Linked DNA regions of Homo sapiens: regions 1 and 3 are each linked to region 2. Evidence: promoter capture Hi-C in human tissues and cell types (Jung and others, 2019). All regions are on one chromosome and are shown on one strand. Each heading gives the region's core, a stretch centred on a gene start or on the middle of the fragment in contact. The rest is flanking DNA. Distances are from core to core; before and after follow the strand shown.

Region 1 (4,185 bases), core at 395-2,894, 230 kb before region 2:
AGGTGGTACCTAAATTTGTTGACTTCTTACAGGTTCTTATTAGTAGCCGACTTCATAGGACTTTGAATTCATGTTTCTTGCTTTATTCTTATTCTCTCATAGTACTACTGAAGCTCATTCCCCCTGTTATCTTAGACATTATTCTATATACAAGCCCTTGGGGTTTAATCATGGTTGGGTTTTGTGTGTTTGGTAAGATGCTTTGCAAATTAGCCTGGGTTTCTGGGTTCAGGATCTGAAATAATTTGGTATGTTTACAAAGTCTTTTTATAAACTAATAAAAATGGAAAGTAGGATTCAGGCTTTTTTGTAAACGGCATTGTGTCTGATCATTGCAATTATATGTATTATTAGTTCACTTCTAAGCATATGAAAATAGATGCAGATTGCTTTTGTATGTGTGTTTATTGCTTTTTTTTTCTTTTAGGTAAACAGGGTACTTGGACACCTAATTGTAGATATATAACACAACTATGTCTTATACTCACGATGGGAGGTGTGTCATTTTGATCATGTCAAACTGAAAATAAATCTTGAGTATAGAATTTTTAAGTGAATTTCAATCTTAAATAGGTTAAGTAAGATTCTGCCAGATATGGAGTTGTTTTAGATGTATTATTAAGGTTCCCAACAGTGAACACAGATGGGAAAATGGTTCAATTATTGTCCTGTTGGCAAATACCAAGGACATTTTAGAATGCTGATGATTTTCTCCATGATGGATTCAGTTTATATTTGTAGATAGAAGGAAAGCTTTTATCTGAATCCCAATTGAGAATCTGAATTCTCAAGTGCAAATATCTAATAAAATGTTAAAAGATGGGTAAGTTTATACATTTTTAATAATTTCTGAAATTTTTACATTATTTTTTGTTTGTTCATCTAGCTGTCTGTCTCAGATTCAAGACACTTGAATTAAGTTAAACCTACTCTTTTATATAGGAAATTAGAAAGATGCTGTTATGATTTATTCATTTAGCTCCTATTTCTAGAGAACTTATGTGGCAGTGTGCAATATTGTGCAGCATAGTGTTTCCTAACATGGTTATTTTAGAGACTTTTTTTCCATTGTTGTAAAAACCGTGTAAGATTACCCTCATCACAATTTGAAAGTGTATAATACAGTATTAGCTGATGTACGTTGTTGTACAGCAGGTCTCTGGAACTTTGTCATATTGCACGACTGAAACTCTATACTCATTGAACACACAACTTCACATCTCCCCTCTACCTGACCGCAGTCCTTGACACCACCAGTCTACTTTCCATTCGTATGAGTTTGATTACTGTAGATACCACATATACACTGAGTTATGCCATATTTGTTTTTGCAGTTGGCTTATTTCACTTAGAATAATGTCCTCAAGGTTCATCCATGTTGTAGTGTATGTCAGGATTTTATTCTTTTTTAAGGCTGAATAATATTCCGTTGGACGTATATACCGCATTTTATTTATCCATTCATCCATTGATAGACGTTTAGGTTGCTTCCACCTCTTGGCTATGGTGAGTAATGCTGCAATGGACATGGGTATTCTCTGAGATCTTTTTTCTCATTCTTTTGAAAATATACCCAGAAGTGGGATTGCTGGATCATATGGTAGTTTCATTTTTAATTTTTGAAGAACCTCCATATACTCAGCCCTCTGTATCTGTGGATTCTGCATCCTTGGATTAAACCAACTGCAGATGAAAAATAATTAAAACCCAATAAAAATAAAAATATAACAATAAAAATAATACAAAATTAAATTATGGTATAACAACTATTTACATAGTATTTACATTGTATTTGATATTATAAATAATCTAGAGATGATTTTAAGGTATACAAGATGGAGCGTGTAGGTATATGCAAATACTATGACTTTTATATAAAGAACTTGAACATTTATGGATTTTGGTATATTTAAGGGGTGTAGAGAAACTGATTCCTTATGGATACTGAGGGATGACTGTACTGTTTTCATAGTGCCTGCACCATTTTACAGTCTCACCAACAGTGCACAAGGGTTCATTTCTTCATATCTTCACCAACGTTTGTCATTCTTTTCTTTCTTTTCTTTTTTTTTTTTTGATAGTGGCCATTTTAAAGGATATGAGATGATACCTCATGGTGGTTTCGAGTTTTATTTTCCCGATGATTAGTGATGTTGAGTATCGTCTCATATGCTTGGCCATTTGTGTATCTTCTTTGGAAAAATGTCTATTCAAGTCTTTTGTCCATTTAAAAAATTGAGTTATTTGTTTTGTTATTGAATTATGGGGGTTCTCTGTATGTTCTGTATGTTAACTCTTTATCTCATATATGTTTTGCAGACATTTTCTCTCATTCAGTTGTCTTTTTACTCTATTAGAAGTTTTAGTTTGTCTATTTTTGCTTTTGTTGTTTGTGCTTTTGTTGTCATATCCAAGAAATTGTTGCCCATTTCAATGTCATGAAACTTTTCCCCCTATGTTTTCTTTTAGGAGTTTTACTTTCAGGTCTTATGTTTAGGTATTTAATCCATTATGAGTTAACTTTTGTATATGCTGTGAGATAAGGGTCCATTTTCATTCTTTTGCATGTGGATATCCAGTTTTCCCAGCACCATCTATTGAAGAGACTGTCCTTTCTTTACTGAGTGGTTTTGACATCCTTGTCAAAGATCATTTGAACATATACATGAAGGTTTATTTGTGGGCTCTCTATTTTGTTCCATTGGTCTATGTGTCTGTTTTTATGCCAGTACTAGGCTATTTTGATTACTGTAGCTTTGTAATATATTTTGAAATCAGAAAGTGTGAGGCCTCTAGCTTTGTACTTCTTTCTCAAGATTGTCTGGGCTATCTGAAATCCCTTGAGATTCCATATGAATTTTAGGATTTTTTTTCTATTTCTGCAAAAAATACCATTGGGATTTTAATAGGGATTGCATTGAATCTGTAGATTGCTTTGGGTAGTATAGACATTTTAATAATATTATTAAGTCTTCTAATCCATGAACACAGAATGTCTTTCCATTTATTTATGTCTTTTAAATTTTCTCTCAGCAATGTTTTGTAGTTTTCAGTATAAGGGTCTTTTACCTCCTTTGTTCAATTTATTCCAAAGTATTTTATTCTTTTTCAATGCTATTGTAAATGGGATTATTTTCTTAATTTTATTTTTGGATTGCTCATTATTAGTGTATAGAAATGCAACTGATTTTTGTATGCTGATTTTGTATCCTGCAAAATGGTTCTTATGGTTTTCTGGTGTGTGTGAGTGTGTGTGTGTGTGTGTGTGTGTGTGTGTGTGATCTTTAGGGTTTTGCACATATAAGATCCTATTACCTGTGAACAGAGATAATTTTACTTCTTCTTTTCCAATTTTGATGCATTTATTTGTTTTCCTTACCTAATTGGTGTGGCTAGGACTTTCAGTTCTATGTTGAATAAAAGTGTCAAGAGTGGGTATCCTTGACTTGTTCATGGTCTTAGAGGGAAAGTTCACAGTTTTTTAACCATTGAATATGATATTGGCTGGGCTTTTCATTTATGCTGTTTAATATCTTGAGGTAATTTATTTCTGTTCCTAGTTTATTGTGAGTTTTTATCATGAAATTGTGTTGAATATTTTCAAATGCTTTTCCTGCATCAATCGAAATGACCATGTGATTTTTGTCCTTTGTTCTGTCAATTTGGTGTACAGTATTACATTAATTAGTTTCTGTGTGTCAAACCATCCTTGCATTGCAAGCATAAATCCCTCTTGCTCATGATGAGTGGTCCTTTTAATGTGCTGCTGAATTCAGTTTGGTAGGTTTTTTTTTTTTTTTTTTTTGAGACAGAGTCTTGCTCCGTTGCCCAGGCTGGAGTGCAGTGGCGCAATCTCGGCTCACTGCAACCTCTGCCTCCTGGGTTCAAGTGATTCTCCTGCTTCAGCCTTCTGAGTAGCTGGGATTACAGGTGCATGCTGCCATGCCCTGGCTAATTTTTTGTATTTTAGTAGAAATGGGGTTTCACCATGTTGCCCAGGCTGGTCTCGAACTCCTGAGCTCAGGCAATCCGCCCGCCTCAGCCTCCCAAAGTGCTGGGATTATAGGCTTGAGCCACTGCTCCCAGCCCAGTTTGGTAGTTTTTGTTGAGGATTTTTGCCTTAATATTCATTAGGGATATTGCTCATACTGCTCTGTAGTTTCCTTTTCTTGCAGTATCTTTGAC
Region 2 (3,978 bases), core at 1,025-3,524:
AGAATGAAAATTCTTTAAAAATGTCTGAATTAGAAACTCTGGGGAATGGGGTCCAGCCATCTTTTTTTCTAGAAGCCTTGCTGGTGATTCTGAGCTGGTGATTCTGAAGACCACTGCTATATGTCATCTGCGCCTATATCTACATTTAGATAGATATAGATTTATGTATTTGTTTATTTATTTTGGGGGCATACTGTTCCCACCCCTGCATGCTGATGCCCCAGACTTCTTTTTCCGCAAGCAGTAAGGCCTTCATTTAAAGGAAAATCGCTTTGTATTTCCCTTTCATTCACCATTGAAAGTAATATCCAAAATGGCTACATTCTGAGAAGAAATTTAACAACTTTCCTATTCACAGAAGTCTCAGGATTTCGAGAACGTGGGATTGGCAATGGAATTTCTGTAAGTATTGTTTTTGTTGAACAGGTACCTTGGGAGAAAGGAGAGGAGCAGCACTGAAAATGTTTCCTCAAGCCTCACCTACTCCCAGGTGTCTTGGCGGGGACTCCAGGAACAAATGCCTTCAAAATGAGGAGATAATTTCATTTCCATCGCTATCCTCATTACCAAATTGAAACCGGAGATAATGGCTTTCATGTCACCTCACTTGCCAAGATACACTCAAAACCCGTCAAGTCAGGTTGTCAAAACGACACCAGCAGCTAAAACATACAAAGAGCCTCGGCCTCCATCGCCACAATCCCTGGCGGATGCAGCACCAGAAACAGCAGCCGTGGCGTCTCAAAGTTTACGCACGCGTTTTTCAAAATTAAAACTATGCATCTGCAAATCACTCTGGCTGGCTTAAACCTCTTTTTCCCTTTCTATGCCAACACCGGGGAGAAGATCGTCCCAGACGCCATTCGCCCATTTCTGATACCACTGAAGTCATGAGCAGGTCTAACAAAATAAAACATCACCCAGCCGTCGGGAAGTAGAAGACTCCTGTTGCCAAGGAGAAACTAAGTTCTGCTCCTCCTAAGGCGCAAAAATGACCTCGAGATCTCCCCAGAAGGAAGCAGAGAGGAGGGAGTTCTGCCACATGGAGAGGGTTTTGCTGGGCTAGGGAGACACCGCCGGGCTCAGCCTTTCCCTTCCTTTCTCTAACTTTCCCTCATTTCGCTCCGCAAACTGAGTTATATCTCGGGGCTGTGGAAGGAATCCAATTTGGGGAACTCAGCAGCAAACCTTCCTGGCCCAGGGCGCAGCTCGCCTGGCGCCGCGTCCATCCCGATCCGCTCCACCCTTCCCGCCCCGCATCCGCGGCCGGACAGTCTCAGTGCCCTGCTGCCTCGGGGCCCGGGGACTCACAATTACGGGCAGAGAACACATAGTGAAGAGCACGGTCATCAGCGCCAGCAGCAGGAGGTGATCCAGCTCCTCCAGGGGCTGAGGGGACGCTTCCCTCCCGTCCGCGCGCGGCTCGGCACAGTCCCTGGTGCAGGAGCGCGGGTGCCGCTGCAGCCGCCGGTGCATCGCATAGAGGTTGCGCATGGCGCCGAGGTTGCACAGCACGGTGGCGAGGACCAGCAGCGCCATGAGGCTGGAGTAGAGCACAGAGTACCCCAGCACCGACAGCGAGCCCTCCTCGTGGACCATCTGGATAAAGCACCAGGTGCCGGGGCAGTACTGCACGAACTTCCCGAAGCCCATGAAAGGTAGCGCGCAGAAAGCCAGGGAGAAGGCGCTCACCACCGGGGCCACCAGTGCGCCCAGGCGCAGGGTGATGTGCCGTCGGTAGAAGAAAGGGTGCCCTAGGGAGAGCCAGCACTCCAGTGCCATGGCCAGGAGTTGCAGTGTCGAGGAGAGCCCAAAGAAGGACATGAAGAAGGCGAAGGCTTGGCACAACGAGTTGTCCAATGCGGGCGCAAGCACCCGCAGACTCCGGTTCTGAGCGTAGGCAGCCAGCACCACCGGGCTTAGGAGGCACTTGCCCAGCAAGTCGGTGACCGTCAGGCCACACACCAGCATGTAGAAGACCGAGGGCAGCGGGCGCAGTGGACGCCGCGAGCACCACCCCAGCCCCGAGCGCGCCAGCAGCCCCAGGGCCAGCAGGTTGCCCAGGAGGCCGGTGCTGAAGAGCACCCCGCCCATCACCGCCGAGTTGCCTTTTTCCACAGAGGTGGTGTTCTGGCAGCGGTAGAACGGCGACTTCATGGCGTGCGGGAGCAGAGGGCTGGAGTGAAGGCTGCGGAAGGGCGAGGGCCCCGGCGCCCGGGTGCTAAGGAGCCCCCGGCAGCTCCGCGCGCGGCTCGGGCGGAGAAGCTGCGCCACAGAAAAAGCTCCGAGGGCGGCGGGGTGTTCCCCACGGCAGGAACCTCCTATCTAAACTCGCGGGTCACACCCCTCTTTGAGAGGCGGGACGCTCTGCAGGGTGAGCGCCTGGCGCTGGCATTGAAGAGCGCGGAGCAGGCCAGTGAAGAGCTCGGCCCTGACGCGCTGCGTTCTCAGTAGAGACAGACTCTGGTGCCGAGTCGGAACGGCAGGAGGAAAATAGCCAGAATTCCAAGCACCCAACACCAGTCCTTCTAGCGAGGCAAGAGAAGAACTACTAAAGTGGAGGGGAAATTAAGCAGCAGCCACCTGAGAGGAGGGCAATGGTGCTGGTGTTTGAACTGGGGTGGCCAAGAACTCGAAAGATGAGCGAAGAGGGGAGGCTGAGAAAGGGCTTCTACCTAGTTGTCTTGAATTAGCTAGTCAAGGAAAGGTAAAGATAACTCACGTCTGGAAAGCCCCTGAGCCTTAGCTCCTCTTCTCTACTAGATCAGCGCAATTTGGGGCATTCACGGTCATCTCCATTGCATAGGCGAGGAAACTGAGGCCTTGGAAAGTTAAGTGATCTGCCCGTGGTGACAGAGCTACAGAAGTAGCAGAGCCGGACCTCTCACCCGATCTTCTATTTTGGAGTTCATCTGTCCTGTTCCCATGACTCCTCCTCCCAAGAAGTTGTCCAGATTTCAGGGAAGTGGTTTGTGGGAAAGCCAAGAGCCGGTGTTGGTCCTGGGTGCCATGAATCACATTGACTGTAGAGAGCTGGGGGGAAGGGCATGGTTAGCAGCACTGTTGCTGTCATCAGATAGGCCTGGGTTTGAGTCCAGGTTCTGCTCCTCACTGTGTGTGTGACCTTATGGGACTTGCTTAGCCTCTCAAGCAGTAACATCTATCTGGCCTGCTTGGCTCTTCTGAGGCATAGAAATAACACGTAAAGAGCAAGTACATAGAAAGTGCTCAATTCATGCAATCACCATGATTCTTATTTGATAGAAGGGTGTTTTGGTAGCTGATGTTTAACTGCAGTTTTTAGCATGGATTTTGAAATCAGAAAATGGTAGATTTGGCATAGAGCTTTCTCACTCCTCTGATTTGTGGCTACTAGAAAAAATTTATTCCTGTTTGGGCTTTGACTTGGCTGCATCATAAAGGCAAGGGAGTTAATTGTGATAAGCGTGATTTTATATCTTTAACTAGCATTCGATGCCCTGTGAGAGAAATTGGCTTTGAGTGTGGAATCTCAGTGGGATGACTAAGGTTTTGTTATGTAAGTGAGTAGATGATGCCTGGGCTTGAAACGGCTCATTTTTAGGCCTCATGCCAGTTCTGATGGACAGACTCAGGGAAAGAGCAAGACCCTTGGGATTTAGATGTGAAAGCCTGAAGGGTAGACAGAGAGGCTGCCTCCAGACTGAAAGTCTGGCCAGTAATTCAGGCCACAGGGTGGAAAAGAAGAATCTAAGCTTGGAATTAGATAGTTCTGAACTCCACCACTGGCTGTGTGACCCTGGGTTAGTTGTTCAACCTAATGGAATATGAGACTTATGCTGAACTTGTGGGGTTGTTGTGAGGTTGAGAAAACTTGAAGTGCTTTGGCATAGTGTAATAATAATAATAAGAGCTAATATTTATTGGTCCTGATGCAGGTTGGACACTCTCTAAGCCTTTCACTTATATTGACTCAATAGAAGGCCTTGTATAGAGTTA
Region 3 (4,153 bases), core at 321-2,820, 200 kb before region 2:
AAATAAGAATGGGATAGAAAAATACTGAAGATCCTAAGCAAATGCATTTTCTACAATTAGTAATTACAAATGTGCATTTTCCTTTTATTTAGGCACATCTACTATGCTTCTTACTAGAATAAACTGTGCAGATTGGTCTGATGTATGTACTAAGCAAAATGTTACTGAATTTCCTATCATAAAGATGTACAAGAAAGGCGAGAACCCAGTATCTTATGCTGGAATGTTAGGAACCGAAGATCTCCTAAAATTTATCCAGCTGTAAGTATTCAGCTTCATTATAAGATCTCTGAATGTTTAGGTCTTTAGAAGTTCTAATTCTCAGACTTTGCTAACACTTAAAATAGGTTAAGGAAGATACTAGAATTGAGATCACAAAATGAATATTTATGAAAGTCTGTGTACATTTCAACACTTTTCGGGAGATAGCAATTTTGTTTAATGAGTCTGATTTTCTTTAAGAATAATATTTAATTTTCTATATTTTGTAAGATATTATCCTATGTAATATATTGTTTGCTATGTTTAGTATGCTTTTTTTTTACAAACTGAAAATATCTTAAAAAATTAATTTGTAATATAGTTATATGTTTATCCAGCAACAGGATTTCATATCCAGTGAATATAACATCGATCCAAGAAGCAGAAGAATATTTAAGTGGGGAATTATATAAAGACCTCATCTTGTATTCTAGTGTGTCAGTATTGGGACTATTTAGTCCAACCATGAAAACAGGTAAGCAGAGCTGAGCTTTTAAATTATACAGTAGAGTATATCATTGCTTGCTAGTTTTATTTTTTAAGAATATCTTTTTAAATTATAGAGAATTTCAAAATTATGGAGAAGTTTGAAGAAAAATAAAATATCGTAAGCTAATTATTCAGAGATAGTGTTAAATTTTGATGTAATTTCTTCCATCTTTTTTCTGTGTACCTACAGATTGCATATTTATGTATGTTTTAACATAATTGGGCTAAAACTGTGTATCTAGGTTAGAATCTTGCGTTTTTTTTGTTTGTTTTGTTTTTTTGAGACAGAGTCTCGCTCTGTCACCAAGCTGGAGTGCAGTGGCGTGATGTCGGCTCACTGCAACCTCTGCCTCCTGGGTTCAAGTGATTCTCCTGCCTCAGCCTCCTGAGTAGCTGGGACTACAGGCACATGCCACCATGCCCAGCTAATTTTTGTGTGTTTAGTAGAGACGGGGTTTCACCATGTTGGCCAGGATGGTCTCCATCTCTTGACCTCATGATCCGCCTGCCTTGGCCTCCCAAAGTGCTGGGGTGAGCCACCGCACCTAGCCAGAATCTTGTTTTTATTTAACATTACAATGATGTATTGATATTCTTCATGAACATTATGGCTACATAATATTTGGTGAATATATATATCAAAATGTATTTAAATTTGTTTTTTGTTTTTTTTTTTGAGACGAGATCTTGCTCTGTCACCTAGGCTGGAGTGCAATGGCATGATCTCGGCTCACTGCAATCTCTGCTTCCTGGGCTCAAGCAATCCTCCCATCTCAACCTCCTGAGTAACTGGGACCACAGACATGTGCCACCATGCCCAGCTAATTTTTTGTGTTTTTGTAGAGACAGGATTTCACCATGTTGCCCAGGCTGGTCTTGAACTTCTGAGCTCAAGTGATCCACCCATCTTGGCCTGCCGAAGTGTTGGGATTACAGATGTGAGCCACCACACCTGGCCTTATTTAACTATTTATGAACAATATTTGTACTGTTTCCTTTTTTTTTCCTTCTGTATGTGAAGAATATTTTTGAGTCTTTGTATGGATTTTAGACCATATAATGAGTTTAGGTTCCCAATAGAATAACGTATGTCTTCTATAAATTGTAGGTTATATACATTACTCATGGTTTTTTGTTTTTTTTTTTGAGACAGGGTCTCGCCCTATTGCCCAGGTTGGAGTACAGTGACACAATCACAGCTCACTGCACACTCAACCTCCTGGGCTTAAGTGAGCCTCCCACCTCAGCCTCCTGAGTAGCTAGGATTATAGACATGTGCCACCATGCCCACTAATTTTTTAATTTTTCATAGAGATGAGGTCTCCCTGTGTTGCCCAGGCTGGTCTCAAACTCCTGGGCTCAAGCAGTTTTCCTGCCCTGGCCTCCCAAAGTGCTGGTAGTATAGGCATGAGCCACTGTACTTGCCCACTCACTTTTTAAAATGGAGTTTTACTGTTTGTCTAATGAATTGGTGTGAGACCTTTGTATATTAAGGATATTAAGCTTTTGTCATTTTGTTTCAGTTATTTTCCCTCAGTCTGTTATTTGCTCTTTAGCTTTGTTTAATGATAATTTTGTATATCACAGTTTAAAATTTTTTTAATCTATTGATTTTAAGATTTCTTCTATTGCTTTTAGCTATAAAAAACCCTATCATTTTTGTCACCTAATATTCACCTGTATTTTTTCTTGCTTTAATTTACAATATTTTCCTATTTTAATTTGTCTTGCTTTGTATATTTTTTCTTTTAAAAAAATTTTGATAACATACACATAACGTAAAATTTACCATCTTACCCATTTTTAAGTGTATGTTTTACAAGTATTAAGTATATTCACATTGTTGTACAACTAATCTCCAGAACATTTTCATCTTGCAAAACTGAAACTCTGTACTCATTAAACAACAGCTTTTCATTTCATCCTCCTCCCAGGCCCTGGTAACCACCACTCTACTTTCTGTTTATATGAGTCTGGCTACTCTATGTACCTCATACAGGTGGAATCATACAGTATTTATCTTTTTCTGACTGACTTATTTCACTTAGCATAATGTCTTCAGGGTTCATCTATATTGTAGTGTGTGTCAGAATTTCCTTCCAATTTAGGCCGAATAGTATTCCATTGTATGTATATATCTTATTTTGTTTATCTGTTTATCCATTAATGAATTTTTGGGTTACTTCTACCTCTTGGCTGTTGTGAATAACGCGGTTGTGAACATGGGTATGGAAATATCTCTCTGGTACTCTGCTTTCAATTATTTTGAGTACATACTGAGAAGTGGAATTGCTGGGTCATATGGTAATTCTGTTTTTAGTTTTTGAGGAACCGCAGTACTATTTTCCGCCCTGGCTGCATCATTTTACATTCCTACCAACAGTGTACAGGGGTTCCAATGACTTTAACATCCTTGCCAATATTCGTTATTTTATTTTATTTTTTATGATAGCCATCTTAATGGGTGTGAGGTGATATCTTGTTGTGGCTTTGATTTGCATTTCCCAGACGATTAGTGATGCTGAGCATCTTTTCATTATGCTTCTTGGTCATTTGTATATATTCTTTGGAGAAATGTCTGTAACTCCTTTGCCTGTTTTTAAATTGGGTTATTTATATTTTTGTTGCAGAAATTCTTTATATATTCTGGATATTATCCTTTATCAAAGATTTGATTTGTAAATATTTTCTCTCATTCCATAGATTGCTTTTTTACTCTGTTGATTGTGATTTTTTTCCCTTTTTTAAAAGTTTTTAACCCTTTAGATATTTTAGTGCATGGGATGAGTGTTGGTGCCAACTTAATTTTTTTTCTAATAGTTAACGTTTATCCTTTTTTTCTCCTCTATATGTGATTTCACCAGCACCATGTTGTCCTTATCTATATGTGTGTGTGTGTGATATATGTCTGTTTAATTGTTTTCTATTTTATTCACTTTACCTATTGATACTTAGTCTATTAGTTTTATAATACATGTTGAATATAGAGTCAAGTCTCTGATCTGTCTTTTTAAATATTTTCTTGTTTTTTTTTCTATTGACTCTACTAGGTGAACATTAGTAATTTATACTTATTCTCTTAACTGATTTGGATATCTGCTGCTTGTTTTATGCTTCATTATTGTTTTTCTTTATTTTTTATTATTATTATTTTTTGAGATGGAGTCTTGCTCTGTCACCCAGGCTGGAGTGCAGTGGCGTGATCTCGGCTCACTGCAAGCTCCGCCTCCCGGGTTCACGCCATTCTCCTGCCTCAGCCTCCCGAGTAGCTGGGACTACAGGAGCCTGCCACCATGCCCCGCTAATTTTTTTATATTTTTAATAGAGACGGGGTTTTAACGCATTAGCCAGGATGGTTTCCATCTCCTGACCTTGTGATCCGCCTATCTCGGCCTCCCAAAGT

The links. The method cuts DNA at HindIII sites, captures the fragments that hold promoters and counts their contacts. A contact is called where the count stands out against the background at its distance.
Region 1: a contact is called between a fragment that was not itself captured here and the fragment with the promoter of PTGDR in region 2, in 1 of the 25 tissues and cell types used here (mesenchymal stem cells).
Region 3: a contact is called between a fragment that was not itself captured here and the fragment with the promoter of PTGDR in region 2, in 3 of the 25 tissues and cell types used here (IMR-90 fibroblasts, lymphoblastoid cells and mesendoderm cells).

Annotation. Positions count from the first base shown.
Region 1 is chr14:52,497,501-52,501,685 of GRCh38, reverse strand. The region is part of intron 9 of TXNDC16 (thioredoxin domain containing 16); the gene reads left to right. Among named protein-coding and RNA genes, the nearest start is that of TXNDC16, 53 kb to the left of the region's middle. The HindIII fragment of the contact is 3,404 bases long and covers 1-3,346 here.
Region 2 is chr14:52,265,994-52,269,971 of GRCh38, reverse strand. It overlaps PTGDR (prostaglandin D2 receptor), which reads right to left and starts at 2,274. Exons shown (of 2, transcript NM_000953.3): 1 at 1,312-2,274. The coding sequence starts at 2,157. The HindIII fragment of the contact is 10,952 bases long and covers 1-3,978 here.
Region 3 is chr14:52,466,620-52,470,772 of GRCh38, reverse strand. It overlaps TXNDC16 (thioredoxin domain containing 16), which reads left to right. Exons shown (of 21, transcript NM_020784.3): 15 at 93-261; 16 at 600-736. Among named protein-coding and RNA genes, the nearest start is that of TXNDC16, 84 kb to the left of the region's middle. The HindIII fragment of the contact is 7,192 bases long and covers 1-4,153 here.